Linked DNA regions of Homo sapiens: regions 1, 3, 4 and 5 are each linked to region 2. The links are contacts of gene promoters, found by promoter capture Hi-C in blood cells and fetal thymus (Javierre and others, 2016). All regions are on one chromosome and are shown on one strand. The core of a region is centred on a gene start or on the middle of the fragment in contact, and the rest is flanking DNA. Distances in the headings are between cores, read along the strand shown.

What was found. Contacts are between HindIII fragments. The CHiCAGO score rates a contact against its expected background, and 5 or more counts as called.
Region 1: a contact is called between a fragment that was not itself captured here and the fragment with the promoter of HEG1 in region 2, in 1 of 17 cell types (naive B cells). The highest score is 5.3, in naive B cells.
Region 3: a fragment that was not itself captured here is called in contact with the fragment with the promoter of HEG1 in region 2 in 1 of 17 cell types (total B cells); the score reaches 6.0 in total B cells.
Region 4: a fragment that was not itself captured here is called in contact with the fragment with the promoter of HEG1 in region 2 in 1 of 17 cell types (naive B cells); the score reaches 5.1 in naive B cells.
Region 5: a contact is called between a fragment that was not itself captured here and the fragment with the promoter of HEG1 in region 2, in 2 of 17 cell types (naive CD8 T cells and naive B cells). The highest score is 6.1, in naive CD8 T cells.

Annotation. Positions count from the first base shown.
Region 1 is chr3:125,279,787-125,282,486 of GRCh38, forward strand. All of the region lies in intron 5 of ZNF148 (zinc finger protein 148), which reads right to left. Among named protein-coding and RNA genes, the nearest start is that of SLC12A8, 68 kb to the left of the region's middle. The HindIII fragment of the contact is 237 bases long and covers 1,232-1,468 here.
Region 2 is chr3:125,054,723-125,057,422 of GRCh38, forward strand. HEG1 (heart development protein with EGF like domains 1) reads right to left here and starts at 1,275. Exons shown (of 17, transcript NM_020733.2): 1 at 853-1,275. The coding sequence starts at 1,168. RefSeq lists silencers at 769-928, 989-1,078, 1,159-1,538 and an enhancer at 1,789-1,838. The HindIII fragment of the contact is 2,339 bases long and covers 1-1,888 here.
Region 3 is chr3:125,243,153-125,245,852 of GRCh38, forward strand. The region is part of intron 7 of ZNF148 (zinc finger protein 148); the gene reads right to left. Among named protein-coding and RNA genes, the nearest start is that of SLC12A8, 32 kb to the left of the region's middle. The HindIII fragment of the contact is 966 bases long and covers 869-1,834 here.
Region 4 is chr3:125,260,490-125,263,189 of GRCh38, forward strand. All of the region lies in intron 7 of ZNF148 (zinc finger protein 148), which reads right to left. Among named protein-coding and RNA genes, the nearest start is that of SLC12A8, 49 kb to the left of the region's middle. The HindIII fragment of the contact is 177 bases long and covers 1,210-1,386 here.
Region 5 is chr3:125,218,909-125,221,608 of GRCh38, forward strand. No RefSeq gene overlaps it. Among named protein-coding and RNA genes, the nearest start is that of SLC12A8, 7.5 kb to the left of the region's middle. The HindIII fragment of the contact is 240 bases long and covers 1,166-1,405 here.

The DNA.
Region 1 (2,700 bases), core at 100-2,599, 230 kb after region 2:
TTTTGCTAACTTTTGTATATAAAAGGTACATATAGGAATATATATTTGCATAGGCATAAAAACTACTTGAGAAGGATATATATACAGAAGTATATAACCTTGATTGTGATGGCTGGGGAACTGGGCAGACAAGAGATAAAATGGGAGGGAGGTTTTACACTGTCCACTTAACACATTTTTTTGAACCATGTAAGTGGTTACCTATTACTAAAAAAAAAAGAGAACACTAACTTTTCAAGTTACAATATGGTAGAATTTATGGTCTGTTTCAGTCTAGGATCACTAAGGTTATTCTAGAACTACTAAATTATTATTAAACATATTCCTAAGAATATTTGTCAAATAAATAAATTAGAAGTGGGTATGGGGTCCATCTGGGGCATAAGTACTGAATAAGAAAATTATTCAGCACTTATAAATTCAGTTTTTTAAAAAATAGAAGTGGGTAAAAAGAAGGAAGACAAGAGACAAAGCAACCTTGTCTTTCTGGGCTTATTGAGATTAAGAGTATTGCAAGCCTGGTTTGGATGGTACCACAGAGAAACTCACCTTAGGCTGCATGTATTCCAATTTATCAACAACTTGTTCAATGTGCAACATTAAGCTGCCTTTTGGCCAGGCATGGTGGCTCAAGCCTGTAATCCCAGCACTTTGGGTGGCTGAGGTGGGTGGCTCACTTCAGTTCAGGAGTTCGAGACCAGCCTGGGCAAAATGAGGAAACCCCGTCTCCACTAAAATACAAAAATTAGCCAGGTGTGGTGGCACACACCTGTACTCTCAGCTACTTGGGAGGCTGAGGATGGGAGGATCACTTGGGCCAGGAGGTCAAGGCTGCAATGAGCCATCATCATGCCACTGCACTCCAGCCTGGGCAATACAGTAAAACCCATCTCAAAAAAAAAAAAAAATTGCCTTTCATCAGACATGTGGAAGAGTGAAAATAATGATTCCTTTTTCATTATTGACGAAAGCAAAAAAAAAAAAAAAAAGGCACAACATTATGCTGAAACAGCAAAGAAAACTAGAAGATCTGATCAGGAGGGGTATGGCCAGTGAGAGGGAAACAATGCTGTAGGTGTGGGCATACAGAATGGGAGCTAAGAAACTGTCCAACAAAGGTAGAGAAATCTGGGAAATAAATATAAAGAACTGTGGAAACTGATTAGGGCCTGCAAACACACAGCTATGACCCCTTCTCAAACCTAGAAAAGGGCAGTACGTAAGGGAAAAAAGCTTTAATCCTTAAAACATTTTTACTTTAAATTCAAGAAGACAGTTCAGCCTATACTATATGCAGATCAGTGGTAATTATTATGCAAATTATACAGGGCATTTGGATTCTGGGCAAACAGCCAATGTGGTCAACAATGCTTCAAAGTCTATGCACCAAAGTCATGGAAGGGAAACATTTGGCAGGAGAATGGAAGTGGGTGTCACAGCTTCCTGAGGAGAGTCAAAGAAAGTGGAAAGCTTCATCTCTGGGCCAGTCAGTTTTGAATTTTTTCAACCCCTCCAAGTCACATAATAATAAGCAAGTTAACACTGTGCAAAAGGAAAACACACAAAATCTTTTAAAATATGACTCAAAATATTTTATACATAAAACAAACAAAAAGATGTTAAATACTTATATAAAATGGAACTAAAAACAAGACAGCACCAGGTATTTTTTTTCATGTATGTTGATAACAAATAAGAAAATCCAACTGCCAAAAAACATGGCACTTCAATAGCTTTCTGTGGCATAGCAACTGCAAGGAAAGGCTTTGTAAAGAACAAATCTGGCCCAAGTTGCTTAATGTGAAACGGATGTAATCCTTGACTGTACAAAGCCCTTTTATGAAGAGTTAAGGAGTTCTAGGTCATTGTTTTCTGGCACTGGAGGTACTGCTGCCTTTCATTGTAGATTCAAGCCTTAATTCAAGGTGAATTTTATGGATGAAACAGCTACCACTGCCTTGTGGATAAACACACAGGAAAATCTAGCTTTTTTTAAGTTCAAAGACAGAAACACCAAATTCTTGGACATTTTATATTTTCCTTACTTTCTTTTTAGGCCAGAGTAATAAAGGACATAGAGTAAACTCATCTTGACTCAGATGAGCATCAATGGCCCTTCCAATTTGTAACCTGTTTTAAATATATCCAACTGATTTTTATTCACCCTTATAATCTCAGTGTTCAAAATGGTATCTGGAGCATAGTGGAGACTCTATACCTGTCAAAGGACCTGGCTGCCTGCTGTCCATAACAATTACTCCTCCTAGCTTACCACTTTCTTGTTTTTTAAATTTGTTGCTAAAAGCAATACTTTACTTTTCAATTTTTTAGTCTTCAGATAACTGAGTAGTGAGAGAAGCGGGTAGGCAAAGAATAAAATCCCTTAGCAGAACACAAATAGCACACTAACGCAGGCAAAATTTTCTTCCCCGGTATAGACTTGCCTTCTTTTCTTGCTCACACCTTTTCAAGATCTTTTAGTAGAATGTGATCTACCAGCTGAGTGTGTTTGCCTTAGAGATTAGCAGTCTTACCTGCAACTGGTTCCATAAAACATCTTTGCTTTTCTTTTTTCCCCAACATATGGACACCATTACAACTGAAGAATTTTATGTTTAAAATTTTGAATTCTAAGATGCCTGCTAGACATCTTCAGATGCTTTATCTTGCCCCTTGTCATTGCTACTTCAGGAGAAATAT
Region 2 (2,700 bases), core at 25-2,524:
TCACATCATCACTAGGAGGCTAGAAGGAACAGGGATCATCACTTTCATTTCACAGATGGAGAAAGTGAGCGCAAAGAGACAGCAGTCCCAAGGTCATAATGGTATTATGGTTAGAATTCCACTCAGTATGTGGCATATTTTTCCAGATCATAAGAAAGAACTGGACACAAAGGTAGCAGGGAGAAGAGGTCAGTTCCTTCTCTCTGCGTGGGACAGGCGGTGGCTACCACGGAGCAACAGTTCATTGGGAAAGGAAAGGGGAGGGAGGAGGCTCAGGGATGGTCCTGTATCAGCCTGTGCCTTGCAGGGGTTCAACCATGCAACCCCAACCGCGTTCCTTTGCTTTTAAGTCGAACCAGTAGAGCGTTTTGTTTCAAACTACGTACATCCTTTGTCCTTTACAATATCCCGTCCTAGAACCCCTTAAAAATCAGTTATTTAGATGAGAAAGTCGAGCCCTGTACCTGGAGAGGCCAGTTCTGTATAGCGGAAAAAATGAAACTGGGGACCGGCTGGCCAGATATCGGAGGTGGGAGAGATGCTTTGCAGTCTTTTTCCCTTTCCTTTCCATTTTTTTTAAAGTGGGGTGGAAGAGATACAGGGTACCCCATAGGAAATAAGTTTTCTTCCAAAGGGTTGGAGGAGAACGGGATAGTCACACCCCTCAGTCCAGCCAACTGCGAAAGCGTCCCTCCCTACCCGCCGACCCTCAGGGTCCCGCACACGCCGGGCGAGGAGCCCCCACCCTGGGTCGCGCCGCGCGGAGGGGCCTACGGCTGGGGATGCAGCCCGGGGCGCGCCCACGCCCCCAGCACAGACTGGCCAGGCGCCAGGTTCCCGGCTCTCACTCACCCGCGCTCCCGCCTCTGGGGGCCCGGCCGGAGGGTCCCCGCTGTGTCGCGGCGCCTGGCTCAGGGGCCCTGTAGCTGGGGCCGGGGGTCGCGGGCCCGCGGCGCTCCCGGGGCGGCGTGGGCGGCGGCTCGCGCTCCGGGCGGCGCTCCAGCTGCAGCTCCAGCCCCGCTCCCGCGAGGGGCGCCAGGCTCAGCGCGCGGCGAGCCGGGGAAGGCGGCGGGTCCCGCGTCCCGGGGGCCGCCGGCGGCAGCAGCAGCAGCGGCAGCAACAGCAGCAGGAGCGGCGGCGGCCACCGCGAGGCGCGCGGCGAGGCCATGGTGACGGCGCCCGCCCGCGCTCACATGCCCGGCGCGCGGGGCGAGGGCAGCGGGCAGCGGGCAGCGGGCGGCGGGGGCCGCGCGGGGCCGGGGAAGTGAGCGGAGTGAGGCTGCGAGCGCGCTCCCCGCCTCAAAAGTTATCGGGAGCCGCGGGAGGGCTGCCGGGGGCCGGGCTGGCTGGGCGGAGGCGGCCCGCGGCGCCGCTACATGCTAATTAGCCCGGGCGGGTCGCTGGCTGGCGGGCGGCTCCTCCTCAGTTGACATCACCGGCCCCGCGCGGCGGGCCCGGAGGCGGGGAGAGGGCAGGAAGGGGGCTGGGGCCGGGCGCCTGGAGAGCGGCCCGGCCCGGGACAGCGGGATGAGGTCAGCGGAGCCACGGTGCTGCAACTTTTGTCACACACATGCTCCAGAGTCTTCTGAATCGGGCACCACCTACCCAACTCCTTAAACGCACAAGAAGTAGGTGAAAAGCAGGTCCTGGGTAATGTGATTAGCACCAGACTAGATTATCCCAAGTGCTTTGATAGGAGAGAGAAAGGGAACGGTCCCCTGGTACCCAGCCCGCGCTGTCACCGCCGTTATTGATTTGAAGTGTCCCCACTCCCACCCCCACCTCCCCTTCTTCAGGCCCCAGGGCTGGTGATGAGCTCGTGTTTGCCAAACCTAACACCTCACCCTCCGGCCAACGCGAGAATCCGAGTATCCCCCACGCCCTCTCAAGCTTGGATGCCGTTCCCATCCGACCACTGCCTTTGGCTCACACCAGAGTTCTGCAGAGATGTCACCGCGAGGACACCCAAACAGGCTGCAGGGAAAAGAAAACTGTGAATTCAGGCAGGCTAGGGCAAACTCATCATCAGGAAAAGAACTGCAGATCGCAAATTAAACCAAATGATGCCCAGAGAACACAGAATTTTAAATGGAAACCTATGGGGAAAGATTCAAAGATTTCATGTAAACAAATTTTCTTGGTCAATAAAGTTCCATTTGTTTCCATAACCTCTCCCTCCCCAGTAAATGAATAATAAACTGTCTAAAGTTTAGGACTGTAAGCCACCTCATTAAGTGAAGAAAGAGGGGCTCAAATGGGAAAATAACTTGCTCAAGATTCTGAAGGTAGACCCGAAGACGAAATGATTGATCTGTGAATGACCATGTGATATTATTAATTCTGGTCTCCTAATTCAGAGTTTGCAATAATTCGCAAACGGAAACAAATAGTATTGCAACAGAAACAAATGTTGCAGCTCCTTGGGGTTCTTGCGAGTTCTGTTGGGGGCCCCTGTCTGACAACCAAATGCTCGTGAAAATATGAGTATGCACCTCACTGTCAGGCCTGGCTCTCCATCCTATTTCTCTGCTCTTCTCTTTTTCTCTGTCTCCAGATCTCCATGACCCACCTCCAGGAGAATGAGATCGTAGTGTCCAGGGCAGCTGCAGATGGGCCTAGGCCCACTTTCTGGTGACTCAGTACAAGTGAGTCATTTGGCAGAAAAACATAAAGGAGGCTGTGTATAAACAAACTCACCTT
Region 3 (2,700 bases), core at 102-2,601, 190 kb after region 2:
CCTTTGTATCCTCCGTAGTGCTTTGAATGATTTCCTCATATGGGATTTTCTACATCTTCTTAAATTCATTCCTGGGCTTGTCTTCTCATTGATATTGTGAAAAGAGTGTTTTCTTCTGTTATATCTTCTATTCCCTGCGTATGTGTGTGTGGCTATACAAAGGGTATGGTTTTCTGCTATTTTAATGAATTTACTTATTTGCAGTAATTTTTCAGTTGAACCTCTTGGGTTTTCCAAGTTTATAATCATATTGCTTGCAGAAAATATTTTTTAACTTATTTTTCTCATCCACTATTCTCAAACAATTAAAAAGAAGTAGTGATAATGGGCTCTACATCTTATTCCTGATGTGTGTACTTTCGTATGTTTCTGATTCTTTTTTTTGAAGAGCAGGGTCTCACTCTGGCACCCAGGCTGGAGTGGAGTGACACAATCATAGCTCACTGCAGCCGTGAACTCCTGGGCTCAAGTGATCCTCCCCAACTTCAGCCTCCCAAGTAGCCAGGACCACAGGCATGCACCACCATGCCCAGCTAATTAAGAAAATTTTTTTTATAGAGACAGGGTCTTGTTACGGTGTCCAGACTGGTCTCGAATTCCTGGCCTCAAGTGATCCTCCCAACTCAGCCTCCCAAAGTATTGTGATTACAGACATGAACTACCACGTCTGACCTGTTTCTTGATTCTTGAAATAAGAATAAAATGACTGATATCTATTTTTCCTGAGAAAAATAAAAACACTTAAATGAAAAATTCCCTTATTGAGAAAATCCCTTTATCATTTTTCCCCTTGAGGGCTAAAGCCTCTCTACTGGAAAAGGAAGATAAATCTATACAGCACTTGAGTGATTTCAAGAATGACACAAAAAGCTTATCTGAAAAGTATCAAGAAATTTTAAATGTTTTTTACATCCAGGAAAGCAATAACACGGTAAGGAAAAAAACAATCTCCAGGTGTCCCACAAAATGATAATTTTCCCCTACCCAAGGGCCCTAAAGTTTCTCTTCTAACAGTTTTCCAGTGAGACTGTTTCCCCAATGTGATGTTTCTCCCTGGTAACTCTGACATTGCACACAATCAGCTGTTTATGGATAAAAATTTTTACTATAATATATGGGTAACTGTTAAGGTAAACTATATATGAGAGAGTTATAAAGACATAAGATTTATGTATAATCTAGCTCACTATGGTTTGACATACTAATCTGATTTTTGGCAACTGCAAACCTTCCTTTCCCTCTTCAAACCATTCCATCCGGCTGCTGCAATGACCCACCATATCAAAATGGTTCTTGTAAATCACACTCAGGTCACCAATACAACCAAGTCTCTTCAGAAATCTTTTTTGTTTTTTTTTTTCTGAGACGGAGTTTCGCTCTTGTCCCCCAGGCTGGAGGACAATGGTGCCATCTCGGCTCACTGCAACCTCCACCTCCCTGGTTTAAGTGATTCTCCTGCCTCAGCCTCCTGAGTAGCTGGCATTACAGGCATGCACCACCATGCCCAGCTTATTTTTGTATTACTAGTAGAGATGGGGTTTCACCATGTTGGCCAGGCTGGTCTTGAACTCCTGACCTCAAGTGATCTACCCGCCTTGCCCTCCCAAAGTGCTGGGATTACAGGCATGAGCCATCGCACCTGGCCCAGAAATCTTACTAGTCCTCTCAACAAGCATTCAACTCAAAGTGATCCCTTTCTTTTTCTTGAAACTCACTTTTGCCTTGGCATCTATGACATCCATACTCCTTCAACCTCTCCAACTGCTCCTTCTCAGTGGTCTTTCCAGCTCACCCTCTTCCTTCCAAATGTGAAATGTTTTAGTTCTTCAAAACAAGCTTTCTGCTTATCTCATTCTATATTTTTCTCTTTGGCATGAAGGGAAGCCCATCTATCCATAGCTTTAATTACTCTCAAGATCTCCAAAACCACATATCCAAACTGCTTATGTAATATATCCACTTCTGTAACACTTAAGGATCTCAAATACATCATATCCCACAATAAACTTAGGGACTGTGACATGGTTTGGCTCTGTTCCGCACCCAAATTTCATCTCAAATTGTAATCCCCATAATCCCCATGTGTCAAAGAGGGACCAGGTGAGAGGTGACTGGATCATGGGGGCATTTCCCCTCATGCCGTTCTCCTGATAGTGAGTTCTCACGAGATCTGACTGCTTTCTAAAACAATTTTCCTGCTCTTGCTCGCTTTCTCTCACCTGCCACCACGTAAGACTTGCCTCTTCCCCTTCCACCATGATTGCAAGTTTCCTGATGCCTCCCCAGCCATGTGGAACTGTGAGTCAATTAAACCTCTTTTCTTTATAAATTACCAGTCTTGGGTATGTCCTTACAGCAATGTGAGAATGGACTAATACAATCTTCAACTTACAGCTTATGCCACAAATGGCACTCCTCTCCCCTCTAAACTGCACAAATGAGAGAACTGTACAGCTTTTTTCTTCTTTATCCTCTCTCCATATTTGGACAATTGACAGGCCCTACTGATTCAGCCTACTAAATACCTATCAAATCTGTTCACTTCTCTCCACTTCCCACTGTCATCACCCAAAGGTCAAGACACCATCATCCTGTGGTCTAGCCTATCACATAATATCCTCCTAAGGAGTAGTTTCTCTGGGATCTATTATCTTCTTCTAATTCCACATTACAGCCAGCCTCTGTTTATTTAAGTAAATC
Region 4 (2,700 bases), core at 48-2,547, 210 kb after region 2:
TAAGTGAAGTAAGTCAGATTCAAAAAGCTACATACCATATAATTCAATTTATATGATGTTCTGGAAGAGGCAAAACTACAGAGACAAAAATCTTATCAGTGTTTGTCATGGGGTGTTGGTAGGAGAGGGGCTCACTTCAAAAAGTGCAAGGGACCCTTGGGGAGTGACAGAACTAGTCTGTATCTTGACTGTGGTAGTAGTTACAAAACTGTCAACACGCACAGAACTATACACTAAAAATGGTAAAGCTTATTGTATGTAAATTGTACATTAAAAGAAGTCTGAGGTCAACAACACATATTTCCCTTCATGGAAAACGAAGATTTAAACTACCTATACATACCTAAACATACTTAAACAAAACATTGGAAAAAATCCTGAGCTTTTTTGCAAAATAAAATAAATCACTATTTGCCCATGTTTCTCCAAAAGATCAAAACTTCCTGATTTATTGATAAGCAGAAGTACTACAAACTTACTGAATTTCTCGTCTGATTACTTCAATTTGCTCAGTGATTGATACAGGGTGGGGGAAGTGTTGGAGGTTTATGGAAAGGAGAATGTATGAAACACCTGTTTAGGAGAAAGACTGACAAGCTTTTAAAAGGGCCACAAAGTAAATATTTTAGGCTTTCAGGGGCCATATGATCTCTGTCACAGCTACTCAGCTTTGCTGTGTAGCCATAGATAATACATTAAGGAACTGGTAAGGCTCTGTTCCAATAAAATTTTAATTACGACAATAGACAGGTGGAGCTGGCCCATTGTTTGAACTAAAGACCCAATCTGGATGAGCAGGAGAATGAAAGGACTAAGGAAATCATTTCCAGAAGTCATTATGGGCCCTCTTAAAATCTAAAGTGACCCTAATTCACTGTGGCTTTCTGTTGGAGTAACACAGTCAGGTGAATAAAAAGATCATTAAATTTACTTATGGCTGTAATTTAGCCAACGTAAGTACTATGTATGAGAGGGCAAGGGTATGAATGTAAGCAAGGTAGTGAATATGATAAATGTTGACAATTTAAATTAAATAAGGAAAATGAAGATATGAGGAAAATGAGGGATAGTGAAAAGGAGGTAGAATCACTGGATTGTGGGTCCTTGTGAAGACAAAGGACTGTTGAAACCTAAGTACTAAACGACATGAGGAGGACTGATAGGAGAGAGTGCCTGGGAAATAAGAAACTACAGTCACAGGAAGACTAAAGCTTGGTGAGCACTAGTCTAACATGACCATGACAGAGGAAGAATAAATGACAGTGTCACCAAGAAAACAGAGGTCTAAGAACTGAGAGGGTGGGGCATTCAAAATAACCTGACAGGGGTTGACAAGTTTTTTTTTTTTTTTTTTTAACACAAAGGGCCACAGAGTAAATAATATTAAGCTTTGTAGACCAAAAGGTAAAATCAAGGATACTGTATACAAACTCATATAAGAGAGAAAACAATTTCCACAAAAATTTTATTAATGAAATTCAAACTATGATAATAATAATGCATAACTTTTCACCATACAGTTCTACTAATGAAAACGCTGGAATTCTCTTTTATAGGGCTTCAAAATTAGCATTCCCTATCATTAAAATCAATTGTAAATGTATGTTAATGCTGATCTGCAATGAGATTTTATGCATTTCATCTTTGAAACCGTCTTGTCACAAAGACAGATACTGATATCAATCCATGAAAATGTGATTTTATCAAGCATTATTCACCACTTGGAAGGCATTTACAGAAAATTTTATTAGATCCCTGATATTTGCCTTTTATCATGTATTACACTGGACATTAACTACTTCCAATTAAAGAGTAGGCAGAGTTGCACAATTAAGTGGATTCTGAAATATGAAAACTTTCTTTGCACTTGCATCAAGGTCCAAAATCTGACGAAATTGTAGTTTGAGCTTGGAAAATACATCCACTGCCTATTTGTGTGAGAGTGGAGATTTTGCTTCTTGTTCTAACTGATAGCATAGGAAGTACATAAAACAGCATTTTGTGATTCAATATTAGGTGCTGTCAAGATAACTTTATCATGGGAGAAATTTCACATATAAACACTGGTTTCCCTTGTAATAACAGGCTGAATTTATTAAGAAACATTTTCAAGTCTTCAGCAGAAGCTAATTTCTAAAGCTATTCTTCAGTGATTGAGATTGGTGATATTAATTCAGAAAAAGTTTAATTTTGGCTTTACATTCAAAAGCTCCCAATAAGACTTTACCACTTCTAAGATATTAAACTGCTATATAATAGAGTAAATCAGAACATTCAGCTTCCATAGCTGACAGAAATTCATGGAACACTGATAATGGTTAAGCCCACCAGAGCAAATGAAGTTCACTATTGACACTATTGGTTCAATGACACATAATGTATTCAAATGTTTCTCACAAAGTACTGGTCACAAATACTAACATGAAAGGCCATAAACTTTAAATGCTTTGTATTTCTCAAGCTTTGTAAATTAGTTCAACTAAACTATTCTGTTCCACATGTATTTTTTTTCCCACCATTCGCTGTAACACAACTTAGCAGATCCACTTCAGTTTATATTAAAATGTTTTGTCAAGTTCTTTACTCATTTTTTTGAAAACATCTTGACATTTAAGTTGCATACCATTCCATTCATCCATTTAAAGTGTATAATTCCATTTTGAAACTATTCTTGCCTATAGTTGTTGCACAGAGATGAAT
Region 5 (2,700 bases), core at 36-2,535, 160 kb after region 2:
ACCAATACCTGGGGGACCCACCTCCAGATATTCTGACTTAATTACTTAATTGGTCTGGGGTGGGGCCTAGAAATCAGCATTTTCTTTAAACTTCTCAGATGATTCTAATGCTCAGCCAAGGTTTGAAAATCATGAGATTTCTAGCCCGATAGTATTTTTTCCCCTCTTCAAAACACCTGAGAGATGGAATACATCTTGTTGGCAGTGGTGTCTTATTGTAGTTACAATTTTCAATGACAGGGAGAAGGTGGATATATCACTAAGGCAGCACAAGTAATTTACTATTTAAAGAGAGTAATTATATAAACTGCATATATATGTTTTAGTTGGTCATTGTGATGCACCTCCCTGGGGCAAGCCTGCGTATTTAAAAAAATCACAGGAATTCTGCACACACTCACAAGGGTTTGCCGGCTCTGAGGGTGGAGCCGAGATTGGAACATAGGTCTCATTCCAATGCCAGGCTCTCTCCTCTGCACAATGCAACCTCTTTAATCCAGGTGAAGAGATAAAACAGAAAAAAGTTTTCCTTCTTCATGGACTTTGACATGCAATTCCAAGAGCCCCAGGTCCAAGAGGGTGTCCTGCCAGAGGGCCACCCAGCATTCCGGGGAGCTGGGAGGGGGTGACTCGGGAGATGCAGGCCGGAACAAAGCACAAGCCCTCACACAGGCTGAGAGAGCCTGGCTCCCAGGGAAGTTGGGGCAGGCCAGTCTCCTCCTCTGGCTTCCCTGGTAAGACTGAGTGGAGAGGGAAGGGCCGCAGCTTTCCTGGTGTCGGGTGTTCAGCTCCTGTTGGACAGGTCTCTCCTCCAGGATCTAGGCTATTTGTTGATTCTGGGGGTTTGCCCTGACAAGAGAAAGTCATTCTGCCTCTATCAGCCACCTGGCATCTGTCATGGGCTGGGACCTGGTGGGAGCACAAAACAAAATGTAGATGCAGAAAGGAGCCAGAGAAACAGGGTCCAGATTATTTTATGATGACAGTGGCAGCCTCACTAGACTGTGACAACAAAGTGATTAGCATTAGCTTTTCCTCAAATACCATCTACGGCAGACCCAGTGACAGGCTGTCTAGAGTGTAGATGAGAGAAGTCAGGTCTGGATCTGAGACCTGATTCTCCCTCTTCACTCTATGACCTTGCCCACGGTCTCCAATGTGTCTAAGCTTCCATTTTCTTACTTGTAGCATGGAGTTAATGATTAAGACCTGCCGAGCCTACCTGGCAGAGTGGTTATGAACATTCTAGAATTTTACTGGGGACTGAAATCCAGATCAGCTATCTCGTTTTCACAATCCACTATTTTCCCTCCCATTTTGAAAATCACATGTCCAGTTTTCTGGTCTTACGGCAGTTATCCAGAGCCTCAAACTCCCTGCGAGTGATTCTTCTGCCGGACCGGCAAGCTTCTCTTTCCATCCTTGGATATAACTCAGGGGCCTGCATCCCCTCCTTCAACCACATTCACCAAACATCTGTTGCTCACCGACTGTGGCCAACACAGAACACAGAGTGGGAAGCAAGACCGCTCCAGGCAGGCGGGCAAGACAGACTTTCATCAAATGCTCACACATTACAAACAGCCGTCTAGAGGCTAGAGAAACTGTACAGAGTGATGAGAGAGATTCTGAAATGGTTAATGTGACCTAATCAGGAAAATCAGGATACGCTTTTCTGGGAAAGTGATGCTAGGGCTGAAATCCAAGGGATGTATGGGGTGGGAGTAGGAGGTTTAATGGAGTGTAGAGAGAAAATAGTGCCTTTGTAGCCCAAGAGGACATGACCAAGTATCCGAAGCTGAAAGCAGTCCAGTGGTGAAAGAGGAGAGAGGATGAGAGCCTTACTGTAGGGAAGGCGGGGGCTACGAGCAGCAGATGACCTCACAGGGCCAAGGTAAGGAATGCCATGTTTCTCCAAGTAACAACTGGGAAGCTTCTGACGCATGGCTGTTATGTGGAGCAAGAACCAGAGGCCAAGAAGAATGCATGTACAGGAACTTACAGAAACCCAGGCAAGACCTGAAGGTGGTTTGGGCTGTGGTAGTAGTAAAGGGAGGGAGGGTTCCAAAGAATTTGAGAAATATTCACAAGCCCTGCCCTCCAGGAGTGGCCTGATTGATTAGATCATAGAATACTTACTGAACCCCATCCAGCAGTGAGCATTTTCCATTACTAAGCCTCACATGTGGACATGTCTCTTTTTTGCTTCTTCTTTTCTTTGCTCCTATGCAACTGGAGCAGTGAGAAAAGGGCTGGGGCCCACCTGCTCACTGATGAGTCCTGGCCATCCTACTCCTTATTCATTCGATTCTCATATACTGAGATGCCCCGGTCAGCACGAGGTGGTAAGGTGCCAAGGGGAAGGAAGTGGCTCTAGAGGCCTTACAGTTCCAGCCACATCCTCTAGCTCATTTCTATACTAGGGTTTGGGAAATGGGCATAGCACATATTGTATTAAGAGGGTGCCTTGTTTCCCACTGGCCATTGATTCTTGTGTGCCACTTTACGGAATTTTTTTTGAAGGTTATGGCAAGTGCGAGTTGTAATTGAGTGCAGAATTCTGGCATTTCCAGGCTCCTGGATGACAGCATCATCTTAATGCCACTGAATTTCCACCACACTTCTAATACCTTCAAATAGCCCTCCGAATGCCTCCTGTACCCCCTAGCATTGTTCATTCATTCACACTTGCTCATTGTG